Regions from separate parts of the Homo sapiens genome. Here all the other regions are linked to region 3. The links are contacts of gene promoters, found by promoter capture Hi-C in human tissues and cell types (Jung and others, 2019). All regions are on one chromosome and are shown on one strand. Each heading gives the region's core, a stretch centred on a gene start or on the middle of the fragment in contact. The rest is flanking DNA. Distances are from core to core; before and after follow the strand shown. Region 1 overlaps C20orf203 (chromosome 20 open reading frame 203). Region 2 overlaps C20orf203 (chromosome 20 open reading frame 203). Region 3 holds the start of TM9SF4 (transmembrane 9 superfamily member 4).

Evidence for each region. The method cuts DNA at HindIII sites, captures the fragments that hold promoters and counts their contacts. A contact is called where the count stands out against the background at its distance.
Region 1: a contact is called between a fragment that was not itself captured here and the fragment with the promoter of TM9SF4 in region 3, in 1 of the 25 tissues and cell types used here (lymphoblastoid cells).
Region 2: a fragment that was not itself captured here is called in contact with the fragment with the promoter of TM9SF4 in region 3 in 1 of the 25 tissues and cell types used here (stomach).

Annotation. Positions count from the first base shown.
Region 1 is chr20:32,632,381-32,635,663 of GRCh38, forward strand. C20orf203 (chromosome 20 open reading frame 203) reads right to left here. Exons shown (of 6, transcript NM_182584.4): 6 at 1-1,890. Among named protein-coding and RNA genes, the nearest start is that of C20orf203, 40 kb to the right of the region's middle. The HindIII fragment of the contact is 6,401 bases long and covers 1-3,283 here.
Region 2 is chr20:32,656,786-32,660,255 of GRCh38, forward strand. The region is part of intron 1 of C20orf203 (chromosome 20 open reading frame 203); the gene reads right to left. Among named protein-coding and RNA genes, the nearest start is that of C20orf203, 15 kb to the right of the region's middle. The HindIII fragment of the contact is 3,050 bases long and covers 598-3,470 here.
Region 3 is chr20:32,107,677-32,111,402 of GRCh38, forward strand. TM9SF4 (transmembrane 9 superfamily member 4) reads left to right here and starts at 2,038. Exons shown (of 18, transcript NM_014742.4): 1 at 2,038-2,079. The coding sequence starts at 2,065. RefSeq lists enhancers at 1,355-2,554, 1,557-2,301, 1,959-2,138, 2,302-3,044. The HindIII fragment of the contact is 9,910 bases long and covers 1-3,726 here.

The DNA.
Region 1 (3,283 bases), core at 761-3,260, 520 kb after region 3:
GCTACTGAAAACAAAGGGGTAAAATAATTCAAACAAAGCAAAGGGATGTACAGTGAAAAACAAGTCTTTTCTCCTCAGCCCCCAGTCCCCGCCCGGGAGAACCCATGTGCGCACTGGAGCACATGCACGTGTGTTCCTGCCCCCTCCTTGGTACTAACAGAAGCGCTCCCCACAAAGTGCGCTGTATCTGGCCTTTTTCACAAAAAAAACATGTATCTCAGAGCTTCTTCCACAGCAGTACACGGGACCGCCTCGTTCTTTTTCATGCCTAGAATTCCATGGCATGCAAAAGTCTTTAGTATTCATGTAACCAGATCTAGAATTCTGGCTCCATGGTTTTCTGCCTTTTCCATAGGCTTATTTCTGTTCTGCACAACAGCCCTGGGAGGCAGGTGGTCCCTGTGTTAGAGATGAGGAAACCAGGGTGACGGGATTAGTCTGTTCTCACGCTGCTGTGAAGAAATGCCCGAGACTGGGGTAATTTATAAAGAAAAGAGGTTTAATTGACTCACAGTTCTGCGTGGCTGGGGAGGCCTCAGGAAACTTACAATCATGGTGGAAGGCAGCTCTTCACAGGGCGGCAGGAGGGAGAGTGATACTGAGCAAAGGGGGAAGCTGCTTATAAAACCATCAGATCTCGTGAGAACTCACTCACTATCATGAGAACAGCATGGGGGAAACTGCCACCATTATTCAATTATCTCTACTTGGTCCTGCTCTTGACACCTAGGGATTATTAAAATTCAAGGTGAGATTTGGTGGGGACACAGAGTCAAACTATATCAGTGACTCACCATCCCAGTTTGCCTGGGACTGTGCCAGGAAAACCCTCAGTTTTGGACAAACCAGGATGGTTGGTCACCCTAAAGGTAAACTGAGGCTTGGAGGGTAAGGACATTCTCCAAGATCTTGTGGTTGATCCGTGGAGGCCTGGGATGGCCACTGAAGTCCACCTGATGGTGATGATACTCTAGGAGGACAATGATCATATAGTAAGTGTCTCCTCTGTGCCTGCCCCTTCTTCAGCCCTCATAACAGCCCCAGGAGGCAGACAACGAGGCACAGATAGAACTTGTGACAGGCGAACTGGGGTCAGATCTCAGCAGCAGGGCTTGGCTGTGTGACCACTGTGGTCAGCTCCTTCTCAGCCTCCTGTCCTGGGCCCACAGCAGACATACAACAAATGTTTGTTGAGGGGAAAAAAAGGCATGAATGAAGTATTATTATCCTCATTTTATGGGAAAAACTGAGGCACAAAGAAGCTGTCCCTGGCACAGGGTCACAATTTGAACCTGGACAGGGGCTCCAGAGCCCATGACACGTTTCCCTCTTGTAGAAGGTCCTTGTCTGTAACCTGGTGGTGCCTCCTGCCTCTGACTCCTCCGGCCAGTCGCCCTGACAGCCCCCTCACCGCGTTGCACTACCTGGTCCCCTGGTCCCAGCCTCCTTTCATGGAAGGAGGTCTTGCCGTCTGCCTCCCTACTCCTGACTTGGGGCCCCTGCTCTGAACCTTCCACCCCGTCCGCCTGGACTGGATGCTTCTCCCGGATCCTGATGCCTGAGCTTCAGCTTCCCCACTCCGGACTGTTTCATGCGTTCATTCATGTGTCCAACTCTTCACTCCTTTCCTCAACAAACATTGACTGAAATTGAAATGAGCCAGTTCTACCCCGGTGTTGGGAATTCCGAGATGAATCCAGCCTGAGCTTTGTCCTTGGGGGACACAGAAAACAACAAAGAAATGGCACTTGTTACCCAGAGACCCAGAGAGATGCAGCTCTGATGGAGATGGCGCAGGCACGGGCTGCTGGGGCTTGAGTTCAGGGGTTGGGGGGAGGTTCCTAGCCTGGGGGCTCTGGAAAAGCTTCCTGGAGAAGGTTATGCTGGAGTCTGGAAAGATAAGAAAGAATTAGCAAGACAGGCATTGGGAGGGGAGGCGAGAGGTACTGTGACATCATGGACAAAGCGGTGGAAGACAGCGTGAGACATTCAAGAAGTGCACGTTGTTCCTTACAGCTGGGTCCAAGCTGTCCTCAGGTGTGGACGCGTGGCTCTAGGAAGCCCAGCACCCTCCCGAGTACCTAGCCAGCTCCGGGCCCAGCAGGGCTTCCGAGAATTTCATGTCCAGAAATTTATCAGAAAAAAACACAACAAAACAATCAGCAATGTGGACATGAAGTTACGCAGGACGGAGGATGTTTACTGCGGTGTTTTTATCACAGAAAACGAGTGAAACAGCCTCTGTGCCCAGCCACGAGAAGGGGCCACACTTGTCAAAGGGCCACCACCGGCTGGAGTCATCCAAAAGGCTGAGGAGTCAGATTTCAGAGACTACTTAAAGGCACCAGACAATGCATCTGATGTAACTGTAGGTAAAAGACAGCAAGAGGCAAACTATTTTTTATTAGGAGACCTACATATGCATATATATATATATATGAAATGATATTAGGAAGAAATGTGTCAAATGCTTCACAGTGGTTATCTCTGGTGATGGACTAACCTGGGGGTTGTAGTTCCTTTTTAAAAATAATTTCAGCCAGACGCGGTCTCTCACACATGTAATCCCAACACTTTGGGAGGCCAAGGTGGGCGGATCACTTGAGGCCAGGAATTTGAGACCAGCCTGGCCCATGTGGCAAAACTCTGTCTCTACCAAAAATACAAAAATTAGCCGGGCATGGTGGTGCATGCCTGTAATCCCAGCTACTCAGGAGGCTGAGGCAGGAGAATCACCTGGGAGGCGGAGGTTGCAGTGAGACAAGATTGTGCCACTGCACTCCAGTCTGGGGAATAGAGTGAGACCGTGTCTCAAAATAAATAAATAAATAAAAATGGGCCAGACACGGTGGCTCATGCCTGTAATCCCAACACTTTGGGAGGCCGAGGCAGGCAGATCATGAGGTCAGGAGTTCAAGAGCAGCCCGACTAACATGGTGAAACCCCATCTCTACTAAAAAATACAAAAATTAGCCAGGCATGGTGGCACATGCCTGTAATCCCAGCTACTCGGGAGGCTGAGGCAGAATTGCTTGAACCCGGGAGATGGAGGTTGCAGAAGGCCAAGATCGCACCACTGCACTCCAGCCTGAGTGACAGAGTGAGATTCCATCTCAGAAAGAAAAATAAATAAATAATAATAATCATTTCCTCGGCTGGGCACCATGGCTCATGCCTGTAACCCCAGCACTTTGGGAGGCTGAGGTGGGGGGATTGCTTGAGCCCAGGAGTTCAAGACCAGCCTGGACATGAGGATACCTTGTCTCTACAAAATACAAAAATT
Region 2 (3,470 bases), core at 873-3,372, 550 kb after region 3:
CCCCAGAGGCAGAGGTTGCAGTGAGCCAAGATCGCACCACTGCACTCCAGCCTGGACAACAGAGTACGACTCCATCTCAAAAAAAAAATCTTACATGACTAGTCATAGCAGCATTATTCCCCCAAAATAGAAACAACCACAACCCAAATGTCCATCAGCTGATGAATGGATAAATGAAAGGTGGTATATTCATACAATGGAATATTATTCAGCAATAAAAAGGAGGACTAAAGTGCTGACACATGCTGTAACATAGATAAACCTTACAAACATCATGCTGGGGCCAGACACAGTGGTTCACACCTGTAATCCCAGCACTTTGGGAGGCTGAGGTGGGAGAATCACCTGAGGCCAGGAGTTCAGGACCAGCCTGAGCAACACAGTGAGACCCCATCTCTACAAAAAAATTAAAAATTAGCTGAGGCTGGCCATGGTGGCTCACACCTGTAATCCCAGCACTTTGGGAGGCTGAGGCGAGTGGAACACTTGAGGCCAAGAGTTCCAGACCAGGCTGGCCAACATGGTGATACCCTGTCTCTACTAAAAATACAAAAATTAGCCAGGCGTGGTGGTAGGCACCTGTAATCCCAGCTACTCGGGAGGCTGAGGTAGGAGAATCACTTGAACTCAGGAAGAGGAGGTTGCAGTGAGCTGAGATCTCACCACTGCACTACAGCCTGGGCGACACAGCGAGACTCTGTCTCCAAAACAACAACAACAACAACAACAACAAAGGAGTTTGAGACCAGCCTGGGCAACATAGTGAGACCTCATCTCTAAAACAAAATTTTAAAAATAAATAAAAAGGCGTCACATTTACTAACATCGATGAGGTCCAAGATATACCACCAAGTCAAAAGAAAAAAAAAGCAGGTTCAAAAATAAGCCTGTAGGCTGGGCAAGGTTGCTTCTGCCTGTAATCCCAGCACTTTGGGAGGCCAAGGCAGGAGGATCACTTGATATCAGAAGTTCGAGACCAGCCTGGCCAATATGGCAAAACCCCGTCTCTACTAAAAATATAAAAATTAGCCAGACATGGTGGTGGGCACCCCTAATCCCAGTTACTCAGGAGGCTGAGGCAGAAGAATCCCTTGAACCTGGGAGGTGGAGGTTATAGTCAGCTGAGATTGCGCCACTGCACTCCAGCCTGGGCAACAGAGCTAGACTCTGTGCGCCCCCAAACCTAAAAAAAAAAAAAGAAAGAAAGAAAGAAAAAGAAAGCATGCAGATTAAAACAGGTACTTAAGAGACTTTAAGAAGATAAAATTTCAGCTGGGCACGGTGGCTCACGCCTGTATCTCAGCACTTTGGGAGGCCGAGACGGGCGGATCACCTGAGGTCAGGAGTTTAAGACCAGCCTGGCCAACACGGTGAAACCCCAACTCTACCAAAAATACAAAAATTAGCTGGCACCTGGCATTCTGATTTTTAAGAAGCAAGCATAATAGGATTCCATTCTTATGAAAAAATCTGTATCTATATGTGTATAACAAAAATACCTGGAAATTTAGGATTTAGGGTACTCTTTTTATTTTTGGAGAACAGGGCTCACTCTCACCCAGGCTGGAGTGCAGTGGCAGGATCACGGCTCACTGCAGCCTCAAACTCCTGGGCTCAAGGAATCCTCTCAAGTAACTGAGACTACAGATGTACACTACCATGCCCAGCTAATTTTTGAATTTTTTCTTTTAGAGCTGGGGTCTTGCTATATTGCCCAGGCTGGCCCCAAACTCCTGGGCTCAAGCAATCCTCCCACCTCAGCCTCCCAAAGGGCTGGGATTACAGGAGTGAACTACCACACCCAATCTATGATACTCTTAATTTATATTTTACTGAATTTTCCAATTTTTGTTACTGCAATGGATAATAATCACTTCTACAGACAGAAAAAACAATAAAGCTTTTTGCTGTGTTGCAGGCATTCCTTTGGCCCTGACATTGTGTGAGCACAAAGGGTAGGTGGGGAATGACACTGGAGCTACAGGGAGATGGAGCAGGAGAAGACCAAGGCTCAGCGTCCTCCGGCCTTGGCGTCCAGGGCTGATTCAAGGCCTAGACCCCACTGCGGCTTCCCAGAGACTCAGACCCACTTCTCTTTTTTTTTTTTTAAACAGAGTTTCGCTCTTGTTGCCCAGGCTGGAGTACAATGGCGTGATCTCGGCTCACCACAACCTTCGCCTCCTGGGTTCAAATGATTCTCTTGCCTCAGCCTCCCGAGTAGCTGGGACTACAGGCATGCACCACCACGCCTGGCTAATTTTTTGTATTTTTAGTAGAGATGGGGTTTCTCCATGTTGGTCAGGCTGGTCTCAAACTCCCAAACTCAAGTGATCCACCTGCCTTGGCCTCCTAAAGTGCTGGGACTACAGGCATGAGCCACCGTGCCCGGCCTAAGACCCCTTCTCTTTCAGGGCAGCTGGTGCAGCTGCTGCACAGCCGACCCCCTTGCCCCACACTCCAAAGACACTGGGAATGTAATCCTGGCTTGATGAAGGTCACCCTGTTTCTGGCCGTACAATTCACCAAGGAGGAGAAGCCCTGGGCAGGAGGCCTGGGGCTAGGGGCAGGTTCTCATCCTGCCTACTACCAGCACAAAAACATTATCGCAGCTCAATGAACACTCTCTACGCATCAGGCAGTCCTGCTAGGTGATGTACCTGATTCATTTTATTTCCTCCTCCTGATGACCTGAAGTGATGGGTGGGACCACCATCTTCATTGTACAGATGAGCAAACTGAGGCTCAGGGAACCTACATGAGTGGACCCAGGTGCTCAAAGTGGAGGTGCCTGCAGCAGCCACTATCTTTGAGACTGGACCTGGCTGGACCCCTCATGGGTGGACCTCAGTGAATTCTGCCAGGATCCCAGGAAGGGTGCCTTCCCTCATTTCCCAGATGAGGACTCTGAGAATGAGAGGGGAAGGCCACTTGTCCATGTCCCACAGTGACTGTGTGGCAGGAAGAGGTGCAAGCCAGAGCCTGTGCTCTCAGCTGCCATACCAGGCAGCCTCTTTCACCTGTGAGGGGCCATGGGCATGCTCCCCACCTCCGTGGCTGGCACTAGTAATATCAATTAATAATAATAGATAATAGCAATAATTATTATGACATATAATTATATCAAATGTATTATATTAACATCATCATCATCATCATCATCCACATCAACACAGTTGTGTTGTAACCTGGGGAGTGTGTGTCAGTGGCCAGTGTGCTGTCCTGTATGCCAGCGCATTTGCTCTTCTCAGCAGATCTATAAGTCTTCATTCTGACTTTATTTCCCCCCATTTTAAAGGCCCAGGGAGCAGACCACATGGGGACTACACCTCTGGGGCACAGTTGCTACTCCTGTCCTGTACAGGGCAGCCCAGTGGGAAGCTCTCTGAGGCTGTGCGGTAAGCACCTTTCCCATTGCAGGGAGGTTGGGGGGCAGCTCTCCAGAGGATCTGGGTCCATCTCCCAGCCGAGCC
Region 3 (3,726 bases), core at 788-3,287:
CCTCGGCAACAGAGTGAGACTCCATCTCAAAAAAAATTTTTTTCAGAAAAAAAAGAGAAACTTGCCCATGTTATGGAGCTAATGAGTGGTGGAAATGCGTTCTGAACCCAGGCAGTCTAGTTCTAGGATTCTGGCATATGTCACCAAAAGAGATTGGGATATGAAAGGCCTTTAGGGAAAAATACAAAGCATGAGAAAAAAAATGGAAATACTAAAAAATAATAGGCCATTTATGGAGCTTTGCTCCTTATCAGTTATCTTTCTTCAGGCAGCTAGAAATGGTGGGAAACACTCAGGATCGAAGCTCTAGGAAAACTGGTTCCAAGTCTGGAAACTATGAGACTGCAGCAAATTCCCCCTAGTCTCTCAAGCTTCCTCCTCCTTGGGGTTAATAGCCAATCTGCCAATCTTCAGGATGGTTGTGCAGGTCACAAGAGTTAATGGGTGTGTGTTTCAATGATCTATTACTGAAATGATCTATAATAAACCACCCCACTCTAAAGCTGGGCTTAGCTGGGCAGTTCTTTTGGTCCACATGGTGTTCATGAGGTTATTCATGTAGCTGCATTCAGCTAGTAGCTCAGTGGGGGTTGGAATGTCCAAGATGACTTCAGTTACATATTATAGTGCTTAGCTGTAGTTTCTAGAATGTCTTGAGGAGTTGGCTGGGCCTCCCTCTCTCTCCAGGTGCCTTTCCAGCAGAGTAGCTACACTTCTTTATAACCAAGAAGGTAGAATCAGACGTTTTCAATCCTCTTAAGGCCTAGGCTCAGTACTGGCAGAATCACTTGTAGCACATCCTATTGGTCAAAGCAACCAACATGACCAGCCAGATTCAACAGGAGGTAAAACAGAGTCTATCTCTTGAGGAGAGAAACCGTATGCTCATCATGCAAGGACGGACAGAACTACGTGGCAGCCATCTTTGCAGAAAATCCACCACAGTGGTGCCCATAGGTGGGGATCAGAGTTCAACTGTCCCTTGCCCCCTAGAATTAGATAAAAAGAGTCTAATGAACTGTTAGCATAATGCTAAGTGCTGCAGCACACAAAATGCTCGGCAAGTGCTGATGATTATTATTAATCATTATTATTCTTTTAATAGCTTTTTTAAAACAGTCTAAGATAGCACTGGTACTGTATTCAGTTTAAAGTGATATACATGGGTCAAATGAACTTTGAGTTCTTTCCCAACCTTAATACCATGATTCTTTGAGTCTCTTTTTCACAGATTTGGAAACTGAGGCTTAGGAAGATTGCGTGACTTGTCTGGAGTCACACACTAAGCTAGTGCATGACGTCCACATTCAGAGATATCTCCCTCCACTGAATATGCTGGTTTTCACTCGTTCATTTAAAAAATAATGTATTGGGCATCTACCACAAGCCCAAAGGAGTATACATAAACATATACTGACAATTATTTATTGAATACATCCTATGTAATACTGTGTCACTGAATCCTCATCACAAGCCTATGATGAACCAACCCCCTTCCCATTTCACAGATGGGAATGAGGAAGAGCAAGGTAAAAAACGAACAAACAAAAAAACAGGGTCCACCCTCATGGGGATTACAGTCTACTAAAGAGGATATAGGATAGTCAAACAAATACTTAAAATCAAACAAATACTTAAATATATAATTACAAATTATTCTTGGAGTCGTACTGCTCTTGGAGCCCCAGTGCCCACCCTTTCCCTCAAATCAAGGTCTCAGGTAACCCTGGCAATGGGTCTTCCTGCCAGTAGTAAAGATGGCGCTGAGAGCACGAGCGCACTTTCGCACACCCCCATTACCCACAATGCAGCGGGAATAAGGGAGGCTCAGTTTCTGCCAGGAGCTAATATGGCTTCCTTAGTTACACCGTTCTCTCTCTTCACCTAATCAGCGACCTTACTTTCCCAGACCAGACTGTCGAGCAGGAGCTAAGACTCCTTTTCCCCTCTGCTGACCGCCACTACAGGAGCGGTTGAAGCCAGACGACCACCTTGTGGAGTTAAACTCCGTAACCAGGGAGCACCACTTCCGCTGACGTCATTACGGCGACACGTGGATCCAAGATGGCGACGGCGATGGTGAGTGAAGGAGACTCCGGGAGCGGGAGCTGGAGCGGGGCCCTCCGGGGTATCCCAGGATCTTCCAGCACCCCATGCCTGGCCCTGAGCCACCTCCGGGACCCCTGACTCAGGCCTGAGGGCTACCTCTGACTGGGCTTGTCTTCCCCGAAATCCACCTCCCTGGCCCTGCCCCTGCACTCAGGCTTGTGAAGGCCCCGAGTTTTGGGGGAGGCGCCGTTTCGGAGGAAGACCTCGGCTGCTGCCTTCGCCGGTTCCCATTCTACTTTTGGTCTCCGCCCACTGTGAGCCCCATTTTCCATTTCTCACCTCCCTGTCCTGACCCCTCTGAAGACCCCCTCCCGTTATTCTCATCCTTGCTCCTCCCCGTCACGTCCAGACCCTGCTCTCCCCGCCTCCCCACCATCATAACCAGTCCGCAGATGTGACCTCTCCTCTGACCACCCTCCCAGCCCAAGCGCTGCCTCAGATCCTTTTCAGAGCCCTGTCCTCACTTACACTCATAGCTGTCCCCATCGCGCACCCCCTTGACTGCCGCTACCCCAGAGCTTGCCTTCACCTACCCCACCCCCATCTTTCATCCCTAGAGGCTTCCCTGCCCTTCCTGTCTTCTCTCAGTCAACTCCCTGCCCCTCTCTTAGGGACCTTTTACCCTGTTGGTTCTCAAACTTTACTGTGCATAAGAATCTCGAGGTGTGTAGGGGGAGGCATGCTAAAAATGCAGTTTCCTGAGCAGCCCCACTCCCAGAGATTCTAATTCCATAGGGCTAGGTGATGCCCAGGAATCTGCCCTTTTATAAGCACTCTAGTGATTATATAGTGGAGGTGGTCTGTGAACTACGTTTTGAAAAACACTAATAGCCCCACCTCACTGCTCTCCTTCCCATTCCCCAACATGGCCACACAGCTCGTTAGGGATGAAGGCTCTTTATTATGAAGCTATATGTTGGGATGAAGTCTGTGTGTGGATGAGGGTGGAGGTAAAATAGCCATGCTTGGAAGTTGGGTCAGAGCTTGCGGGCTCCTGGTGCAGAACCTTGGAAGTAAATCTTTGAAGGACTGGCCCTTTTTCTAAAAGTTTAGTTCAAATTCTGCTTGTCAAGAGACCAGAACTAAAATTGAAGTCACTTAGTCCAGAATGATTTCCTGGGTCTTCCTGCATACTGCCTCCTCAGCAGATAATTTCGTCCGGGGAGTGAATGACAAGGAAGACTCAGAGAAAAGGAAATGACATTTGACTTTAGCAAAGGAAGATTCTGGCTTAAATAATTTGGTGTTGGTTTTCTCCAAACAGGGATATATTATTGACTGGTAGCAATTTTCCCTCCTTCTCTTAGCTGACTGAGAACTTACCTTTGTTTAATGAGGGATTCCTTATTTAGAACTTCAGAGGTCAGGTAAAAAGATTTCATGGCCTTACCTGGTTTCTGTGGTTTCAGACTTCAGGCTGAACCACGAGTGGGGCAAATCCTCAAAGTAGTATGTTGAAACCTACATATATGTATATATATTCTGGTACCACATTCAGAACAGAGATAGTGTAAGAACTTAAAAGGAAATCACACCCTCTCTTGCTATAAGGAAAACATTGAGTAAAGTGGTATTTACGGCACTGCACTGGGAAATCCCTGCCTTGTTCAGAGATTT